Regions from separate parts of the Homo sapiens genome. Here all the other regions are linked to region 3. Evidence: promoter capture Hi-C in human tissues and cell types (Jung and others, 2019). All regions are on one chromosome and are shown on one strand. The core of a region is centred on a gene start or on the middle of the fragment in contact, and the rest is flanking DNA. Distances in the headings are between cores, read along the strand shown.

The links. The method cuts DNA at HindIII sites, captures the fragments that hold promoters and counts their contacts. A contact is called where the count stands out against the background at its distance.
Region 1: a contact is called between a fragment that was not itself captured here and the fragment with the promoter of OSR1 in region 3, in 1 of the 25 tissues and cell types used here (H1 embryonic stem cells).
Region 2: a contact is called between a fragment that was not itself captured here and the fragment with the promoter of OSR1 in region 3, in 2 of the 25 tissues and cell types used here (aorta and hippocampus).
Region 4: a fragment that was not itself captured here is called in contact with the fragment with the promoter of OSR1 in region 3 in 1 of the 25 tissues and cell types used here (H1 embryonic stem cells).
Region 5: a contact is called between a fragment that was not itself captured here and the fragment with the promoter of OSR1 in region 3, in 1 of the 25 tissues and cell types used here (hippocampus).
Region 6: a contact is called between a fragment that was not itself captured here and the fragment with the promoter of OSR1 in region 3, in 1 of the 25 tissues and cell types used here (neural progenitor cells).
Region 7: a fragment that was not itself captured here is called in contact with the fragment with the promoter of OSR1 in region 3 in 1 of the 25 tissues and cell types used here (H1 embryonic stem cells).

Annotation. Positions count from the first base shown.
Region 1 is chr2:19,633,190-19,635,889 of GRCh38, reverse strand. The region is part of intron 3 of LOC124905977; the gene reads left to right. Among named protein-coding and RNA genes, the nearest start is that of LINC01808, 170 kb to the right of the region's middle. The HindIII fragment of the contact is 6,142 bases long and covers 1-2,700 here.
Region 2 is chr2:19,077,208-19,079,907 of GRCh38, reverse strand. All of the region lies in intron 5 of LOC105373456 (a long non-coding RNA gene), which reads right to left. LOC124907739 (a long non-coding RNA gene) reads right to left here. Exons shown (of 2, transcript XR_007086236.1): 2 at 1-2,700. Among named protein-coding and RNA genes, the nearest start is that of LINC01376, 52 kb to the right of the region's middle. RefSeq lists a silencer at 966-1,260. The HindIII fragment of the contact is 4,532 bases long and covers 1-2,700 here.
Region 3 is chr2:19,357,198-19,359,897 of GRCh38, reverse strand. OSR1 (odd-skipped related transcription factor 1) reads left to right here and starts at 1,275. Exons shown (of 3, transcript NM_145260.3): 1 at 1,275-1,557. RefSeq lists enhancers at 1,403-1,931, 2,597-2,700. The HindIII fragment of the contact is 12,145 bases long and covers 1-2,700 here.
Region 4 is chr2:19,027,248-19,029,947 of GRCh38, reverse strand. The region is part of intron 5 of LOC105373456 (a long non-coding RNA gene); the gene reads right to left. Among named protein-coding and RNA genes, the nearest start is that of LINC01376, 1.6 kb to the right of the region's middle. The HindIII fragment of the contact is 6,450 bases long and covers 1-2,700 here.
Region 5 is chr2:19,096,845-19,099,544 of GRCh38, reverse strand. LOC124907738 (a long non-coding RNA gene) reads right to left here. Exons shown (of 2, transcript XR_007086235.1): 1 at 1,723-2,700. Among named protein-coding and RNA genes, the nearest start is that of LINC01376, 71 kb to the right of the region's middle. The HindIII fragment of the contact is 3,551 bases long and covers 1-2,700 here.
Region 6 is chr2:19,693,787-19,696,524 of GRCh38, reverse strand. All of the region lies in intron 1 of LOC124905977, which reads left to right. Among named protein-coding and RNA genes, the nearest start is that of LINC00954, 170 kb to the left of the region's middle. The HindIII fragment of the contact is 8,525 bases long and covers 1-2,738 here.
Region 7 is chr2:19,762,330-19,765,029 of GRCh38, reverse strand. No RefSeq gene overlaps it. Among named protein-coding and RNA genes, the nearest start is that of LINC00954, 110 kb to the left of the region's middle. The HindIII fragment of the contact is 9,190 bases long and covers 1-2,700 here.

The DNA.
Region 1 (2,700 bases), core at 34-2,533, 280 kb before region 3:
GCAGTGTGGCATCCTACCTGCTCCATCATAGATCTCTGCACCTGGGGGATGGGTGGGCGTCAACAGCAGGCACTTCCCCAGTGCCCTTGCTCTCCTCTCGCCTGCACAGCTCCCTGTGTAAATGCCTCAAGCTTCAGGTAGGTGGTGGCTCCCATCTCTAGCATAGACTCAATCTCTTCACACTGGTTTTGTCCTTTCAGAAGGAGATTGGCTGAGGAGGAGATTCAAGCAACGTTGTATCATGGAAGTGTGCTTGACATTATGTCTTAAGTATCTCTGCGTGCTTTACAGAACTTAGAACTTACAGAACTTAGAACACGCAAGATATACAACAGATATTTAATTCTCATTTGATTGATTGACAATCCAAGTGATTTTTCAATTTGAAAGCAAAAGGCTTAATTTCTCTTTGCAACATGTAAATGCAAACACACGATGTACGGCCAGTTCTCTGGTGCTTCATTTTAGAGTAGTTCCTGGACCACAGGACCACTCCTGTGACTAGGAAATCCAGAGGTGAAATAAGCCACAGACAACTGGATCTGGGTATCAAGTCAGGCTCCAGGGCCCTGTCTTGTGTTTCATGGCTCTGCTCTCCTCCTGCGTTGGTCTTTCTTCTCTGCTGATGGGAGGTGGTAGAACACAGTGCATAGCTCTGCAGCCAGACTGCTGAGTGACCATGAACAAGTTAACTAGCCTCCCTGGGCCTTAGTCTTATCATCTAAAAAACCACCATAATAGTGGGAATCCTCCCATGGGTTGTTGTGAGGCTTACATTAGTGAATATGCGTAAGCCTTTAGAGTAGTCCCTGGACCATAGTAAACACCATGAGAGGTTTGCCATTGTTGGTGTTATTGTTGTCTGTGCAGACTGGGGAGAAGGACATGGCCTTAGATTAAAACTAATATCTCAGCCCAGAGGAAAGAAATTTCTTTTCGTCCCTGTCCATGTACATAGCTCTCCAGGGGGACTGTCACTACCCTGCTTGATTCACATGCTAAGATCTTGACCCCATTGCCATGGACAGGGTTGATAGTTACTGTGATTGACAGTTCCACCATAATTACAAGGACTTGGGGACCAACAGTTCCCCAAAGGAGCAGCAGACATTTTACTATTCGCTCATCCATTTACTCAATGAATGTTTATTAATTGTCTCTTATGGACCAGGCACTGTTCTGAGCATTGGGCTAATATCAGTGCCAAAGAACATGAAGAACTCTCTGCCCTCATAGAACTTATGTCTCACTGATAACAAGAGGAGACACATAGTGCGTAAACAAAAGACAGAAAATTTTGAATGTAGTTAAGTGCTATGTTTAACATAAAATAAGATGATGTCGGGAGAGTGCAGAGTGGCCAGAGATAGCATCTCTCAGTAGGCCACCTTGAAACGGAGACCTAAATGCCAAGAAGGAGTCAGCCATGCATAGATTTGTGGTAAGAGTGTGCCAAGCAGAGGGAGCAATTAGTATAGTGGCCCTGGAGCAGGAATGAGCTCTGTGTGTTTGAGAAAGAGAGAGGAAGACTGTGTGACTGCAGTCCACTTGGTGTAATGGAGAGGGGGATGGAGCGAGGCTGGAGGGGGAGCATGACCAGGGAGAACTCGCTGGTACTTTTAGGATGCTGATGTTTTTCCAAAGTCATTCTGGCCGCCATGAGGGGAATAGATGGTAGAGAGGCAAGAGTGGATGCAGGAGAGGAGTGAGTGTCCCAGTGAAAGATGATGGCAGCTGGGCTAGCAGGCAAGTTGCAACTGGAAATGGGTTCAGGACCTGACTGGAAGCAAGGCTGGCAGGATTGGCCAATGGATTAGACATAGGGAAGGACATCAATGATGACAACTGGGCTTATGATTTGAACAACTAGGTGGATAGTGCTGTCCTTTAACAAGAAGGGGAAGATTGAAGTGGGTAAAGGGAAAGCAAATCCAGAGCTCTTTGTTAGATTTGCTGAGTCTAGATTTCTGTTAGATTAGTAGGTACTTAGATAGATGCAACTGGAATTCTGGAGAGACAGAAGGGCTGGGAATGCTGTCATCAGCCTGTAGATGGTATTAAAATCATGTGGCAGGATGAGCTTACTTAAGGAGTGGAGAAGAAGAACAAGGAAGAGCTCAGGAGGAGGGAAGGGATGCTGGATAGAATTAAAAAGTGCTGCCTACTCCCTTTCCCTTTTCTGAGAAAGGAGAGACGTCTTTACTGTGAAATTTTTCTTGAGAGCCTTGACCAAAAAGAGGAAGAATTCCTTTGGTCCTTCTGGTGGCTGGACCAGGAGAAGGAGAGCTTTATCAGGCTACCTGAATGTTCCCAAAGCTGAACAAATCAGCTTTCAACAATCTTGCTTAAGTTTCTCAGGCATTCATTTTATTAGTTAATTGGTTTTTGCTCCATCTCTTTTGGGGCATTTTATTGTTGTCAAGCTCATCATGGTTTTGTATCTTTTAGGAGTTATTTAACATTTATGAGCTCTGGATTTGCACATTTTTTTTTCATAAAGGGGTCTTTTGGAGGTCCTGCGTCCATGGGGGGAGCTTGGGGGGTGTCAGGGAAGAGATGACTGAAACTCTGTCTCCCTAATTTTAACAGTACAGTTGTACATTTTGCTATTTTATATAGCACTCTGCGTATGATTATGCTGTCATTTGAAGATAGATTCCACAGCCACAGATGTATGAAAACCACAGTGGTAGAGCATCA
Region 2 (2,700 bases), core at 72-2,571, 280 kb after region 3:
AGACCATTTTCTATATGGGTTAATTCAACTTTTGTGCCATCAATGAGCCCTGGGGCAGAAACTCATACCTGTGATGTGTCCAGCATCACAACAGGTTTTGCATAGATGGAAAGAGTGTAGCATCAGCACTGATCATGGTGAAAATGGACAATGGTGAGTGAAGTAAGCTCCAGGGTTTTAATCTGATAAGAAAAATATTATTAAACATTTAATTGGGGCCTATTTTTGTGTGAGGTACTTGCATAGATGTTAACCCACTTAGTCATTATGGGCATCCTGCGGGACAGGTATTGTTCTCTCTTATAAGTCAGGGAACTGAGGGTCTTTGGTTCAATAGAAAGCCACCTGGACTGGAGTTAGAAGTGACCAGATCTTTCACTTAATGGTGGAATGGCCTTGGGGAGGTTGCTTATTCTTGGTCATCATTGTGGACTTGGCCCTTATGACGCTGAAGGCCCTTCCAGCTCTGACACCAATGGTTCTAGTTTATTCCACTGCTTGCTAGTGTATTCCACACACAGGTCAAAGACATTGCTGGCAGACATTGTGTGTTCCTTCACGTTTATGTGATTGTGGTTTACAAATAAACTCATTCTTTGTGTATGCCAACTACTCTCTTTAGAATAGACCACAGCCCAATGCCCCACCAGGAGCTGGCTCAGAAAAAGCTCCAGAGGCTACTCATGGCTGGCTTGGAAACCCGTTCTCTGAAAGAAGCCAAAGAAAGATGCCAGTTTGCTCTGCAGGGGAGAAAAGGCCTCATATAGGGTGGGACACAGGCATTCTGTGCTACTCATTCTTTAAGACCAAAGGTAATGATCAACATGCTATTTTTGGTGCCAGCCATGGCCACTGGAGTCACTACTCATTAATACTATGAATGCAACCTTCATATCCATTATGCAGAAGATAAAGGCAGCCAATAGAGCCACAAGTGCTGACTGTGTGACTCAGGCTACAGAAGGAACTTCTGTAGGAAGGGCCAGCTGCTCCCTTCATAGAGACACTTGCACAACCAGGACTTTGTATCATTCTCACTATTCACATAAGACAATGTCTCTCATTTACAAACAGAGCAAGGCTTCTAAAACAGCAATCTTAGCAGCTATCAGTGCCCTAGGGACTATTTTATGAAAACTACTTTGTGAGCCCTATCTATATATTTACACTTTAAACATTAAATTTACTCACATGTAAGCTCTTGTAGAACACATTTGTATGACCTATCCAAAGAGATGTATAAACTATCTGATGAGGCTATTTACTTACTTTAATAAATGAAACGAAACACAAAATGCTTCGAAGACTTTAAAAAATATGAAAATCCCATCATTTCCAGCACCTCAGCAGATAAAATCAGGTGGCTAATCTGGATTTCTCAGCCAATTACTCTTATGTAATGGAGTTTCTGAGAGCCTTTCTCTGCATAGTCATATAAGAACAATATGCAATATCTGCATTTGCAGACTGCCTTTTTTTTGTTTTTGTTTGTTTGTTTTTTGAGACAGAGTCTCACTCTGTCGCCCAAGCTGGAATGCAGCAGCATGATCTCTGCTCACTGCAACTCCACCTCCTGGGTTCTCCTGCCTCAGCCTCCCGAGTAGCTGGGATTACAGGTGCCTGCCACCATGCCTGGCCAATTTTTGTATTTTTAGTAGAGACAGAGTTTCGCCATGTTGACCAGGCTGGTCTCGAACTCCTGACCTTAGGTGATCCGCCTGCCTCGGCCTCCCAAAGTACTGGGATTACAGGTGAAAGCCACCATGCCCAGCCTGCAGCCTGCCTTCTGACTGGCAGTAAGTTTGCAGGACCCCAGCAAAACATTCTTATAGGGACAACAAAAGTGGAAATATATTCCTTAGACACTTGAGAGTGACAGAGTGTGGTCATACTTGGTTTCAGAAATAAGATATTCTTCGTGATGAACAAGCATTAACATTTCATGCACAACAAAACCACTCAACTCTATACCCTCACCTATTTCCTATTGGTATCTTCTCCTTATACCACAGCAATCTATGCAGGATTCCTGGTTCTACTGATCAAGTAGCCTGATGAATTCCCCAAGTGTAAATATCAACAGTTAATAAATCAATTTTCTCTTTAATGGGATAGAGGAGATACTAGTTCTGTGCAACTGGATAAAGACATTCTACTTCACCAGAACTACCAGTTTAGTGATAAACTGGATAAAGGCATTATCCAAACACCCTTCTATGTGCTAGGTGCTTACTGAGACAGAATTTACTCTAAGAGTATTTGTGTGTAAAAAAATAGGCATGGACTGTGTTGCTTTTGCAATTTAATACCCATTTCACCTCAAATATATGGCAGAAAGAACTACAAAGTTGCAAATATAAAGCTTTCAAAAGCAAAACATATTCAATCTCCCTATCCCTCTATAAAAGACTGGAATTCTCCTCAGGCATCCTTTAGATACGCTATCTAGATTTTAAAGTGTCCTTTCAATCCTCTTGTTGAATGCTAACCCCAACCTTCAGGCTGCCCTCACTTCCGATGTGACAGCAACCCTACACCCCTATCCTGACAGAAGGATGGTGGCATTGCCAGGTCCCTATTTCTCCCCCACCTTAGCTGGACGGACATTGTTGCCTTTCAGAGCAGTCAGAGCTCATCATTGTGACCTGTTTTAATCTGACATGTGACTCTTCCACATTTACCAACTCCCCTACAACCTTT
Region 3 (2,700 bases), core at 26-2,525:
CACCTCCCAAGAAAATCAGATTAGCTTTGCAAACCAAAGCTGGAGATAGCAGAAGCTCCTCGGGAGAGAAGCAGTACAGTACTTAGGGACCCACGGAATCTAGGATCCAGCTCCAAGAGTCACTCAGCAGCAACTCTGGGGCAAAGGCAGAGAGTGCAGTTGTGTGATCTGGACCCACACAAGTCCCAGGAAACCAGTGACTCCTCCTTGCCAAACCCAAGGCCTGGAAGGGTATTCCAGAAAGGCATTAGGGAGGGATTGGGCTGGGGTCAGCCGGAGGTCAGCTTTCAGAGATGGGTAGTCAAGGGGGTGATGGTACCCTCCATAATGCCTAGGCAATGAAGATAGAATTTTTAATGTCCAGAACTCTGATTCCTTTCCGATTAAAAACTCCACCTGAACCAGCTCCTTGACTCAGAGGCCCTGGAACTGACAACTTTGCAGCTCGTCTAGCTTGCCAGTGCGGCTCTCTAAACTCTGATCCATCCTAAAACAAATATGTAAGTAGAGAGTGCCACTGTGCATTGGGGTGAAATCTCAGAGAGTTCTGGGCCCCAGGAAAATAACTTTCCTGACCTCCTTTCCCTACTCTTTGTTCTTTCTACTGGACTCCAGAACTTAGGGTCTGGGGTCAACCATAAGCACTCAGATGTTACAGCTCGCTTGCTTCGGTGACCCTGGCCCTCCCGCACCAGGAATTAACCAGCGCTGCCTGGGTTAACACCCTGGCCCCGAGCACGCTTGGATAGCCAGGAGCTGCTCCACACTCGGGGTCTGCCGCCTCTGGAAAGAGATTCTGGGAGGAGATGCGACTCTGTCAGGCGCCAAAGTGCGTTGAAACCCAAGCCGCGGTGTGGGGATCCCGGTGCACAGAGCTACTGCCCCTCCCTCCCTCCTCCCAAAGAGCACGGGCTGTGTCCTAGGAGCCCAAGTATAGGACCTCGAAACGTGCGGTGCCAGCCCGCTCTCATCTGCTAGGGACCGTTTCCTCCAGTGCGCCAGGCGTGCCGCTCTGGACCTAAAAAGGCAGCAGGGGTCGCGCGGGACTGAAGAGGAGGGGACGCAGGTTGGGAGAGGCCGGGTCCAAGCGAGAGCAGCTGCCAAAGTCTGCTGCCCGGGTCAGCAAAAACTTTGTCTTTCATTGCGCAGGCGCAGGGCAGGGTTGGGGGGCAGGGGAGGGAGGGGAGGAATCCTGAGGCAAGGGGCGGGGGTGGGGGTGGTGGAGGAGGGAGGGTGGTGGATTAAAATAAGTAGGCGGCTCGGTGCTAAGGGATGAGTGAGTCGGAGCTCGGCCTCTCCCCGGCACGTTCTCAGCTGCTCCTGGTTCAGACCCAGCGAGGGAGCCGCGAGCGAGGCTCACCGTCCCCGGCGTGCAGGATCCGGGGCTGCTGAGCGCTCGCTCCCGCGTGTCCGGCGCTTGGAGTCCCCGCGGCAGGAGAGGAGTCGGGACACTAGAGCTCCAGGGGCGCCTGTGGGCTCCAGGGCCTCCGGCTTCCCCAGTCCCCTTCAGCTAAAGCCCCAGAGACGTGCTCAGCCCCAGGACCTCTGCGGAACAAGGTAATTGCAGTCCTGGGCGCCTGGGCTCAGCAAAGCGAATGCGGGCAGGACTCCCAGGTTCCTTGTCACTGCTCGGCGGGTGCCTCCTCTCTCTCAATGCCCCTGAAGGAAGCTCTTGCCAAACGAATGCTGTAGGACTTTTGTGAAAGTGAGAGCAGGGTGGTTGGGGGTGCTGCCTCAGGACTTCCTGCGCGGGGTCCTCGGCCTCTGACCGCTGGGGATTAAGGGGGGCGGGCCTCCGCTACTGCGGCCAGCCCGCCCGGCTCTGCGGAATCACGGGCGAGGTGCCCACGGACTTTGAAAGTCAATCTGTGGGCCCCCTTTAAGAAACCAGAGCAACTTCAGCGGGCACAAACTTTCCTGAGACGCGCTCCTAGCTCTGGCTGACGCCCAGGTTGACGAAGAAGGAAGGGAGAGGGAGTGAATGGCCACAGCCGCAGCCGACCGCGCCAGGGACAGGTGCATGCCCCAGCTCGGTAGCGCTTTCGTTCAAGTTTGTCTTTTGAGGAGTTGCGCTCTAGTATGAGGCCGCCTAGACCCGAGAGCGCAGGGCTGCGAGTCTGAACCCCGCCTTGCACTCGCGCTCTAACTTAGGGATATTCTCCATAGGATGATTGCTCTGTGTCGTCAAGGCCTGGAGCGGAACCCTTGATTGTCCTGGTGCAGGGAGGCAATGCAGTGGGCGCAAGCACTGCTTTCCAATTCGAGACCCACACACAGCACTAGTGGAAACTCTGTGGAGCCCTAGGGTCTCCGGGCTGGGGACAGGAAAAGTTCTGTTACTCCCCTGACTGTCCGCTAATCCAGCCGTCAGGAGAGAAAGAAGGGGGAAAGGGGTGAAGGGCTGCCTGCTGAACTAATTTCTCCTCGGAAATGTCTCGGAGAAGAATGAAAAACCACGTTTAGTCCTTTTTCAGCAGCTCAGGCAGTAGCGGGTTGGGTTCTCAATGTGTAAAGTAGCCGCAAGGGTTTCTTTGTTGCCACAATTTGGTAAATTTCACCCAGGCTAAGAGCTGCGCATTGGCTCTGCGGAACAAAACCACGTGCAAGGCTAGGTGTCCCAGGTTCACAACCCCCTAGGGAAGAGAAGCGCTGGAGGGGACTAGCAGCGACCGGCGGCGTGTAGATGTTCCATCCCAGGCT
Region 4 (2,700 bases), core at 3-2,502, 330 kb after region 3:
TGTGCCAACCCCTAGTAACACCTAGCAACTTCCTATTATTGAAATTGTGAAACTAAGCCTGGAATGGAACATTCTGTATCAGCCTTAGTCATTGATCCCATTGATTCAGCATGGTGCTTCATGGAATCCAAGAGATTGCCTAGAGCAGAATTCATTCTTTCTGTTTCCTCCAAAGTGCCAGCAAAGCATCTTCAAGTGGAGCCAGCTAATCTGAACAGCATTTGAGCATGCGGTGCTCCCATGAGTTACAAGTACGTGAATTACAGGCAAGATGTGCACACAGGGATAGACACCACTGACTCCAGGAGGCCCCCAAGGGAGGAAGACTTCTTGGTCCACCAAGTTTGGTAATACACCTGGATCCTTCAGCAATGGTATACAAAAGAACTCTCCCTGAAGCATAGGATCCTGAATGCAGCATTATTTATGGAAAGTGAGGCAGTACAACGAAGAACCTGGCCTCTTCCTTTCTCCTGGGCTCTGAGTACCTCCCTTGGGAAGGCTGTCCAATCATGGCAGTCAGAGGTTATGTGCAAGTGTTGTTTGAGGGGAGCAGCAAAGAGCCGACTGCAGGTGTGGGCATGCCCCCTCCTCCATCCTAGGCCTTCTGGAGAAGACTGCGCTTTCTGAGAAAGGCCTAATGAAAAGGATCAAGCTCACACAGAGGCCCTGCTGTGCAGGAAGATTGCTTCCAAGAAGCGATTCATTTTTAGTTTAACAACTGTGCGTTTGGTCCCCACACAATTTATCTTCATGCAAAATCACATACCTGTGTGCCAGATGTGCACAGCTGTATATGAGCAACTGCTGATCTATCTGTATCACATGCCAAGTGCCTGTTTCTTTAAATTAGGGTGGGTTGGGATTTGGGCCATGTGAAAATTTCATTTTGAAACCAGAAACCAAGCAAGCCCTGACTGTGGAGGGGCGGGGGCGGGGGGCGGGCGTTGAGCATAGCATGATGATGAACCAAGGTTGACTTAGTCTTTTCCAGGACCCCCCAGAAACTCCCCCCTTTCACGACCCCTAAAATTCAGCTGCATTCTAGGTCTGGAGAGGTTAGGCTATCTGGAGACTTAGTTCTGCCAAAGTGTGCGGCCCTTGTAAATGCCTGTGGTGAAACTGCAAAACCTCTGCCCAGCCCTCAGGAGCTCTTGAAGCAAAATAGAACTTGACATTTTTAGATGGTGTTTGAGTTTTTACCCTCTGGATTCAGAAGAAGCAAGACCACAGTACACAAAATGAAGGCTACTACCCCAGTAGCGGGGCATTGCAATCCACCCAAGAGCAGGAAACTGAAGTGATGAGGGGACCGTTCCTCTGGAAACCCACAGCTTTGCGTGCACTGAGGGATCCACAACAGAACACGTGGACGTTTCCCCTCTGGTCTTGCCTATTTGTGCTTTCATAGCCAAAGAAAGTCAATAGGAAAAGGAGACTCATCCATCATTTTGTCAGTTTATGACTTATTTTTGAGTATCCACTAATGCTAGGTGTCCAGGTAGATATCAACAGGAGGTAAAGGAGTATAGTGCTTGACCCATAATAAATATTCAATATATGTTATTTGCTGATAAGGTGATTGCAGATGTACTATTTTTTTTTTTAATTTTTGAGGACCTACCAGATGTCAGATACTATGCATAAAATCCCCTGTTAATTCTCACATCGCAACAAAGCAGGCAATATTACTCCTATTTTGCCAGTAGGAAAACTGAGGCTCAGAGAGGTTACAAAACTTAATTTTAAAAGTCATGTATCTCATACATGGTGGAGTTAGGCTTAAGATTTAGCTGTGTTTGATTTCAAATTCTGTCTTCGTTCCACCATGCTGCTGTTGTTTCTTCTCTAGCAGTTCTCAGAGCCTCAAGAGAAGGCTTTTCCCTCTAGGAGTGTACTGCATTTGCTCCTTCTGGCCTGGAGACCTGCCCCTTTAATAGGTAACCTGGATGAAAGACCCCAGAGCGACCTCCCCACAGTTACACCTCCTAGTTCCTTTCTGGTTCTCACATGGGCAGGCACTGATAAATCAGCTCACGGTACACAGGCTCAGTTTGAATTTCAACAACATTTTCTAAAAACAGTAACCAGATGCAATTCAAATCACATTTTGTCCACATAAGGAATCCATTCCAAGAAAAGTCAGAGGATGCGTCTCAGTCAGATGAGTGGCTTCTAATCTTCCCTGGCCTTGTTTTAGAACTCCAAGAAGAAATAATATCCAGATTAATTTTAGAGTTCAGTCATTGAATTTGGTCTCAGGAAAATTGCATATATAATTTAGTCTTATAACGATAACCCCGAGATCAAAGATCACTCAAGGGTAGTGATCCCTCTAGACACCTGTCACACTCAAAACAATTTCCTCTTTTCAGTTTAAAGAACTATTTCAGACTTTGTTTTCTCACAGGCTACTTTGAAGAAACAGGCCACCATCCTGGGAGTAAAACAGAGTTCTTCACGAATTACATCATTTATTTTTCAACAAATATTAACTTAATTTGGTTTAGTTTAATAAGAGCGCATGATCACAGATTTGATAACCAAATGGATTCCTTGACATAAACTTCAGTCCTGGTTTAGCTCTCTTCCAGGAAGAAAAACAAAGTCTCTCAAAGGTAATTGGTATATCACTCTTCCAAAGTGGGAAAAAAAAGAAAGGGTAGGCTTTCAATTTTCTTAAACATAAAACTCAAAATC
Region 5 (2,700 bases), core at 198-2,697, 260 kb after region 3:
TAGGTTGACCTCATCCTTTTTGATAATAAGGACTAAGTAATTTACCACGTTTCATTTCTTTCTGAGGTTACCTTCTAGTAAATCTCAGAGCCAAACGTGGTACTCAGTCCTGGTTCCTTCATTTATTTCTCCCTCTTTTGTTGAACTTGGTTTTCAGTTCCTGTTTTTCTGCTTTTGCACGTGATCTTAATGTGCCTCTGGCCAGCTGTATCCCAGACTTACTGGAGAGAGATGGGTGCACTTTGATGCAGTGAAAAGACCAACCCCAATGTCACTACTGCCTCTTCTGCTTACAACTCCTGGAGCTACCATCCATTTATGTCCTTCTCAGTGAGGTTTGCCCAAGCATTTGGTAAACTATATCTTTCAATTTACCTCCAAGCTTCCATCTCCCTGCCAGAGCTTTTGAAAACAGTGGTTAACCCTGCTTAGAGCATGGAGCTGTTCACTCCCTTGAGTCAGATTTTTATTTGAAAAGAAATTCAGCCTTAATAGTGCAGTACCACAAAATACAAAAGCAACTTCTTTGTGTGACAAACAACAATGAATGAGCAAAATGTCCTGTTTGTGCTTAAACAATCTTTGGAGAAGACAGCTGTCGTTTCTCTGAGACAGGAGACATCTAAAATACAGGGAAACACACACACCACCACCACCACCACTAATACTAACAATAACAAACTATGAATTCATAGTTCAATGTTTTTTTGGGGTTCCTTTGTATCACACTGAGGGGATCATAAAATAAAATATTTGATTAAAATCTTTAATTTATGAATACCTCATTAGGCATCTGAAACTGGAATTTACCTCAAGAATTTTACTTGGGGTTTGACATTTTTTGAATCATAACATGGGATTGTGAAGTTTAGTCACTGTTGATTCAAGTTTGCGGACAACAATAAAATGAAGAGGCTTAGTTCTTAGCACATTGAATTAGGGATTCAAACTCTGTGTGTTTGTTCTGTGTTGCAAACTCATTTGTCCATTGGATTTTTAAGATCTAAATTGGTATTTAGCTACACCTATACCCTTTTCAGTTTATTAAAATTTATAAATCATATATTTTTATTTCTAGAAAGTCTTTTTGCTTGGTCTCTAAATGACTTGCTTTCAGAGTATATCTTATTTTTAAAGTTCTTTTTGAACTCTTGCATCTATTCAATGTCAGTAGAAGTCATCTCTTCTAAAGGCACATCCTTATCCCTGAAAATCCTTAAATATGTTGTTATAAATTTTTTTGCTTGCTCATTTTTCTCTATAATTAATTTCAGCAAAGGCACCATCAGGTTGGAAGGTCTGTGAAAGAGTAGGGAGCAAGAGAAGGGTGGAAGGCACAGCCATGTCTCCTCCCGTGAGCCAGCTGTGAGCATGCCAGACAACCTGACTCTGCTGCTGGGGCACTAACTGAAGGCCTCTCCACAGCTAGTCTCAGCCTAATAGAGTCAGTGCAGAGGCAATAGGACCCATTTGGCCTGGTCATATTCTAGGAGAATTGACAACCTGTAGCTTCAGTCATGTTTACACCTTCCAGAGAGGATGGTGGGAGAGAAAGGAAATCAGGAAGGCATGCTCAAGTTTCCATCATTTAAATCTCTGTCCAGATTTTGATGAGTTCCAGGAAAAAAAAAAATGGCAGCTGTGAATCGAAAGCATTTTGCACCATGTCAAAGTGGAGTTCATCTTAAAAAATGTATAAATATTCAACATCAAGACACCTACCTGCATAATTCTTTGTGCAAACAAATCAGAAGGAAAAAACTGCAGGCGATCATGTAGATAGGTACAGAAATGTCATTGTTAAGATTTAGGGGGACCAGCAATTCCTAACAAGAACCCTAACAAAAGTGGAAATAAAAAATGAAGATTAGTTATAGACAAAATTTGTTAATAGTTATATATAGTTAGTTATAACATATCAAATATTGAAATGTTAAAGCCATTTTCCATAAAATTAAGAACAAAATGCAGATGGCAGCTATATTTCTCATAAGAAATGCAGCTTTGGAGACGATTTCAACCTTCATAAGACCATAACATAAAATCATTTATAAAATGCTAAAGAAAAAAATCAAAGAATATGAAATCACCTGTGTCAGAAAATACTATTTGAATAAAAACAATTGCTAGCATGCTACATTAGTTTTCTATGCTGGGTAACAAATTATACAAATTTGGAGACTTGAAATGATATGTGGTTATTATCTCACAGTTTCTGTGGATCAGAGTACTGATATAGCTTATTCAATCCTCTGCTGAGGGTCTCATGAGACTACATTCCAGGTGTTAGTCAAGCTGTGTCCTCATCTATAGGCTCAACAGTGGAAGAAACTGCTTCCAAGATCACTCAAGTAGTTGCCAGAATGTATTTCCTTGTAGTTATTGACTATGGCAGCTTGCTACTTCAAAATAAGCAATGGAGAGAGAGAGAGAAAGAGAGAGAGAGAGAGAGAGAATGTCTAGAGTGAATTGACTAGTTAGACACAGTTTTATGTTATCTCACATGCTGAAGAGAGTGACACTTCATTGCCTTTGCAATTGGTCAGAAGCAGGTCACAGTTTCTGCCTATACTCAAGGAGAGGGGGTACATGAATACCAGGAGACAGGGACCATGAAGCCCATCTTAAAGTTCCATACCCCAGGAAAACAGTTTAGCAGTTACTTAAAAAGTTAAACAAAGGATTGTCATATGACCCAGC
Region 6 (2,738 bases), core at 197-2,696, 340 kb before region 3:
ACAATGCACTGCACCTTCTCTTGCCTCATGGGCCTTTGCTGAGGCTGTTCCTTCTGTCAGAAATACTATTCCCTTTGCTCTCTTTTCTTTCCTTCCCTCCCCACTGCCACCACTTCCCACTGGGAAACATATACATGCTCCTATCCTCATCTACCCCTCTTCATCTAGCTAATGGCTACTCACCTCCCAGGAGTCCATTAAGAAGCCCCTTCCTTGAGGAAGCCTTCCATAACTGCCAGGGGTGGGATAGGGCTCATCCTTCCTTACACTTTCTCTTACATACATTTCTCTCACTCTTTTGTAATTGTCTGGTTCCTGGATCCATCTAGAAGGTGACCTCTGTGAAGGCAGAGACTGTGATCAGTTCATCTTGGTGCCTTTTTTTTTCAGTCTTGTCTTCCTCAGCTGGAACCTCCTATAGGTAGGAATCAGGCTTTCTCTTTACACCGCATGGAGAGAAGCATATGTGAGGGCTCCATACAGCTAGGTGACTGACTAATACGTTTTGGAGAGAGCAGTCAGAGACATAATCACCCGTGAATTCGTCTGTTTAGCATAATGAATGAGAGTATGGGTTCTGAAGTCAGCACAAGACCTGGTTTGAGCCACAGCTCCTTGGTGTGCCACTTTCCCAGGAGGGGGACTCAGACCTCCAGGCAAGACAGATGTTGTCAAGGAGCTTGGAGTGGGGCAGTTGGCTGATGGCCTCCAGCTACTGCATCTTTGGGATCCTCTGCAGTGTTTGAGCCAAGCTTGCTCTCACCCTGGGCTTCTCCCAGCCAACAGCTGAGCACAGCAGCACTCCAGGGGCCTGGGTATTTCAGCTCTGTGTGGGACCCTCTGCAGGCAATCTTTGCACTGGAGCTATCTGTTGGGCCATGAGATTTTTTCAGATATGCATTAAAGTCAGGCCTTTCTGCCCAATCTTTCTTCCTCCTGCCAATCCTTTTGCAGATGTCTGAAAGTCCTCCTGCTTCTCCCTTTCCCTCTCCCTGTTGTCTTTCACAGTTGTTTTTCCAATAAATCTCTTGCACTTCTAACTTTGCTTGACATCTGCTTTCCAGAGCAGCAACTGACACACTCTGTCACCTTAGATAGACTTCTTCACTGGTCTCTGCCTCAGTTTTCTCATCTATACAATGGGTGTAGAAACAGTAACAGTTTCATAGTTCAATAGTGAGGATTAAATGAGACCATACATGTTAAGTGCTTACTGTGGTTTCTGGCACATAATAAGTACTCAAAAAACCCAGCCAGGTACAGCCACATATAAAACCTAACACCTATAATCCACCAGACCTGGTGTTTCCCAGAGTGTCTTCCTTGTCTGTCTGCCCTGATCCCCCAGCCCCCAGCTCCAGGTCTGGCATGCAGTGGGTACTCAGTGAAAGCTAAGTGGGAGTGGAGGCCAGGAAAGCACTTCCTGCTTTCACAGCTGGAACAGCAAATGCAGTCCCTGAGCTGGCCCCTGTGAATGGACCTGCCTCTGGAGCCACAGCCACCCCTTGAAGACTCGCATGAGCTGGGCCAGGATGAAGACACACCCAGGTGGCCACCAGCAGGGCTCCTTTGCTGATCCCTGCCAGTGGGTGGCTTTACTGACCCTAGGGCTACCTCATCATGTGGCAGAAAGAAGGGGAGAGTGAGGGAATCCTTCTCCCTCTCTGTGGAAAGAGGTCCCACATGTCCCCTCTGGAAAAGGCCAGGCTCCTGGAGCCCCTGTAGTGGGCCTGACTAAGCCAGTTGCTCAGTCTCAGAGGGTGTGGGCAGGTGCACAGGCCTGAAGGTGACACCTGACCCCAACTCGGAGCCCCTCCGTGGCCAGGAATTAACAATTCTTAGGGCCTGGCTTTTCAGGATGCTGCTAATGGAAGCAATAGAGGGAGGTGAGGCCATGAGATGCCCTCTTATTTGTGGGGTCACAGGTGGTGCACTGTACAAATGCATTCATAGCCCAGGATCGCTCACTACAGATGGCCCTGGTGATGGTCTGTGAGCCCCCAGGAGGTCAGTGTGCATCTGCCTGCCCTGGGCCTGTGGACAGAAAAAGCTGTAGATCATAGAGGCTTCAATTAGTTGTCCTTGGACCATTCATTTATGAGGTGACTATTTGGAAAAAGCCATTGTTCAATATAGATGTTGCAAAAGCTATTTTCGCCTGGGAATCTTTTCTGGAACAAGGGACCCAGGGCTTGCCTAAGCTGACCTCCATGGCTTAGAGAGAGGGCCATTTTTCTCTCTGCTTTCCTTAGAAACTGGGGCTGGGTCTCAGGGGTCAAGCACTCAGCAACATGCCACCACCCTTGACTGAGCACTTCCATGGGTAGAGTACTGTGTTAGCCTTCATAGATGTCATTTCCAATGGATACTCATAGAAACCCTACGAGGGAGGTCATCAGGGACCACCCCCTGCCCATTTTATAGATGAGGAATCAACTAAGGCTCAGAGACAAAATGTCTTGTGGAGGCCCATGGTGAGAGAAGCCAGGGTTTCATTCCCTGCGTCCAGATGTCAGTGTCTAGTGTCCCATCTGAGTGCATTGTCTCTCAATGTACTCAGAGGGTCAGGGAGCTGGGAGGCTAGAGGGTATCTTGCAGATCACCAAAATAAAGGGCTCCTTGGAAAATCTGTGAGTTCTTCCTTTAATCCTTCCTAAAATACTTTACCCAAATAAAATTCCAGGGACCCCAGCCACCTACGTTCCTGGCTCCAGCCATGAGAAAACTCTATGTCCAAG
Region 7 (2,700 bases), core at 144-2,643, 410 kb before region 3:
ATTTACTTTGTGTTCATTTCGGTATGGATCCAGTTCCCTTGAAATGAAATGGGACTTGCAAGGAATTCTTTGTTCTTGCTTTGTAGAAAGAGGCAGAACAGAGAAGACATGTACTTCAGGGGAGTTTTGTGATACTTTTCTTGTCCCAGCTTCTTGTCCTATTCTGTTTCTCTGCAGTCTTTCTTTCCAGAGAAAGTTTGACTCAAAAGATGGTTGGATGTTGGGCTCTGGTTGAGCCTGAGGCTCTTGGCTTCCAGAGTGAGCCCAGCAGCCCTTGTGCTGGCTTGGTGTCTGTAATAGTAAGTTTGTTTAATGAACAAAAAACATAATGACTTTAATTAGGTTTTAGTGTAAATAATGAGCAAGATTACAGAGCAGGTTCTTTTGTCACTCTTATGGAATTTATGGTTGTTTGAAAAGTCAACACTGACTTCTAGCCACTTCTGTCCTCATTTCTTGGTCAACCCAGCATCTTCATTAATCAATAGGGTTGACTTTTGATGACTGAGTGGAAACTCTGAGCTGGACTTTCCTACTTTGGAGTAAGCCCACCCTTCCTCACCCCCATGTCCATCTGGGGCTCCAGTCTTAGCCTAGATGCCCACTCCTGAGGGGCTGTGCTTTGAGAAGATACTGGGCAGGGGTGAATAGAGGGCCAGCAATGTTGGAGGTAGTGGTCCATTCAATGAAAGACAGGCTGGGGAGTTCTGGCCTTCCACCCAGAGCCCGATTCCATCCTGTGCTGAATATCTACTATATTTCAGGTACTGTGCTGCTCACAAAATCCCCAAAGGCTAGAGGGGCTCATAGCAGGCCAGATCAAACCTGCTTCAGAGAAACTGAGAAGGACAAAGGCCAAAAACAAGCACTCATATAAGATCTGGCATATGCCAATAGCCTAAGGCCTCCCATAGGCCAAGACAGAGTCCACAGCCATTTGGGCAATGGGTGCAAAGTGGGCTTTGTGGGATGAGCTGGGGAGGAGCTGAAGTTGCTCTTTGGGTGATCAAGCCTTCTCTATACCCTAAAGGCTGAGATGCCAGTTTCCATGGTTTGTAAAGTTATTTTTTTTTCTAATCTGGTTCTCATTCCCTGTTGTCAGCATTTTATTTGCTAGCCTGGCATCTCCAGCTTCAAAGATACTACCCATGGACCAGTCTCCTATCCCAGGGACCAGCCCCCACATGGCTTAGAGATGCTGAGAAAGAGCACAGCTGCCCTATTTCTTTGACCAACCACAAAGCTGGTTTTCATTTACTGCCCTGAGAGAAACTTCCTGAAGACAGGGGCCTCTGTCTGTATCTGAACTTCTTGGGCAGTGAGTCCCTTTTTCCCTGACCACACCCTCCACTGTCCCTCATGAGAGACCTACCCACTTCCCTGAGCCCCTCCTGATGGTGCCCAATGCAGCTAGAGCTGGCCCAGCTTTCCCTGCCTGGGTCTCTACCAGGAGGTTGATGAGAGCTGTTCTGCCCATGGACTTGAGGGCCTCGTTTCCAGCTTCCAACACATGCTCTCTTTCCACTGGAGGAGAGGGCAGGTTCTGATAATCTTGTCCTCTCTTCCCAGGTGACTCAAGATTGGCCTCATGAGTAGGGCTCACCAGCCTCAGCTCTCTGGCACAGCCCCATGCTCACTGGAGCTGTGGTGTGGAGGGGCTTGAGTGTGCCTGATGGAGGGGCAGGCAGCACCCTAGTGTGTTCAGAGAGTAGCAGAAGCCTAGGCTGCTCTGGGCCCCACTGTGTGCTGCAGCCTGGTGGTCATAATGATTTCCCAGTTATTTATTGTCATAACATTAATCACTCTGAACTCACTTGGCATTAATGAGGACATAATGTGTACTTGGACAGGAATTTTTATTGTAGTGCAGCATTAACTAACTGGCCTATTATTTAAAGTGTTACCAGACCTGGTATGTACAAATGGTTTACTTTGCAGTCTCCAAGTGTTGAAACTTTGTATGGTTTGTGTCAAGAAAATAGGAATATGGAACACAAAGAAGGCAGGGGCTGAAGTAATGTGGGGCTGTCTTCTGGCTGTCAGGGATACAGAGTACACTCAAGAAGGGGGTGCCCACTGGTCAGCCTGGGCACCCACCTCTGCCCTGGGCCTCTGCTGGTCTAATTCGTATGTCTGGGCTGGATGCCGGATGTGAGAAGCTTGGGGTGGTATTGAGGTGCTTTCTGAGTTACCACCATGGGGACAAAGAGGAGCAGAATAACAGGATTTAGAATGTAAAAAGGCTGTAGCCTATGCTGAAGATCACGTGTTTTTCAGATTCTTCCTCGATTCTTCGTCAGTGGCAGCTGTAGCCCTTGTCCTCCTGCACCTGCCCATCTGTGGGTCTCCACTCTTCTCCACCATCAGCCTACCCTGTTGAGGCTTGGCCCTCACTGCCCACCCTTACTGAGCATCAGCTCTTGAGATGCTCTGAGCTTCCTGGCCTTTTCATGTGCTATTACCTTGTTTGGCTAATGTCTTTTCATCTTTTGAGATTTAACTCAGGCAACATACCCTTTATGAAGTTTCCTAGTTTCCCCCGCTCCAAAGGTTTATTTAGATGCCCTTTCTATGTGGACCCCTGTTAAGGGCCACACATGCACACATACTGGGGAAATGACTCAGATGAGTATGAGATAGTCCTTGCCAGTTTAGTGTGGAAGGCCAGCCAGCCACACACATCCACATCCACACACACAC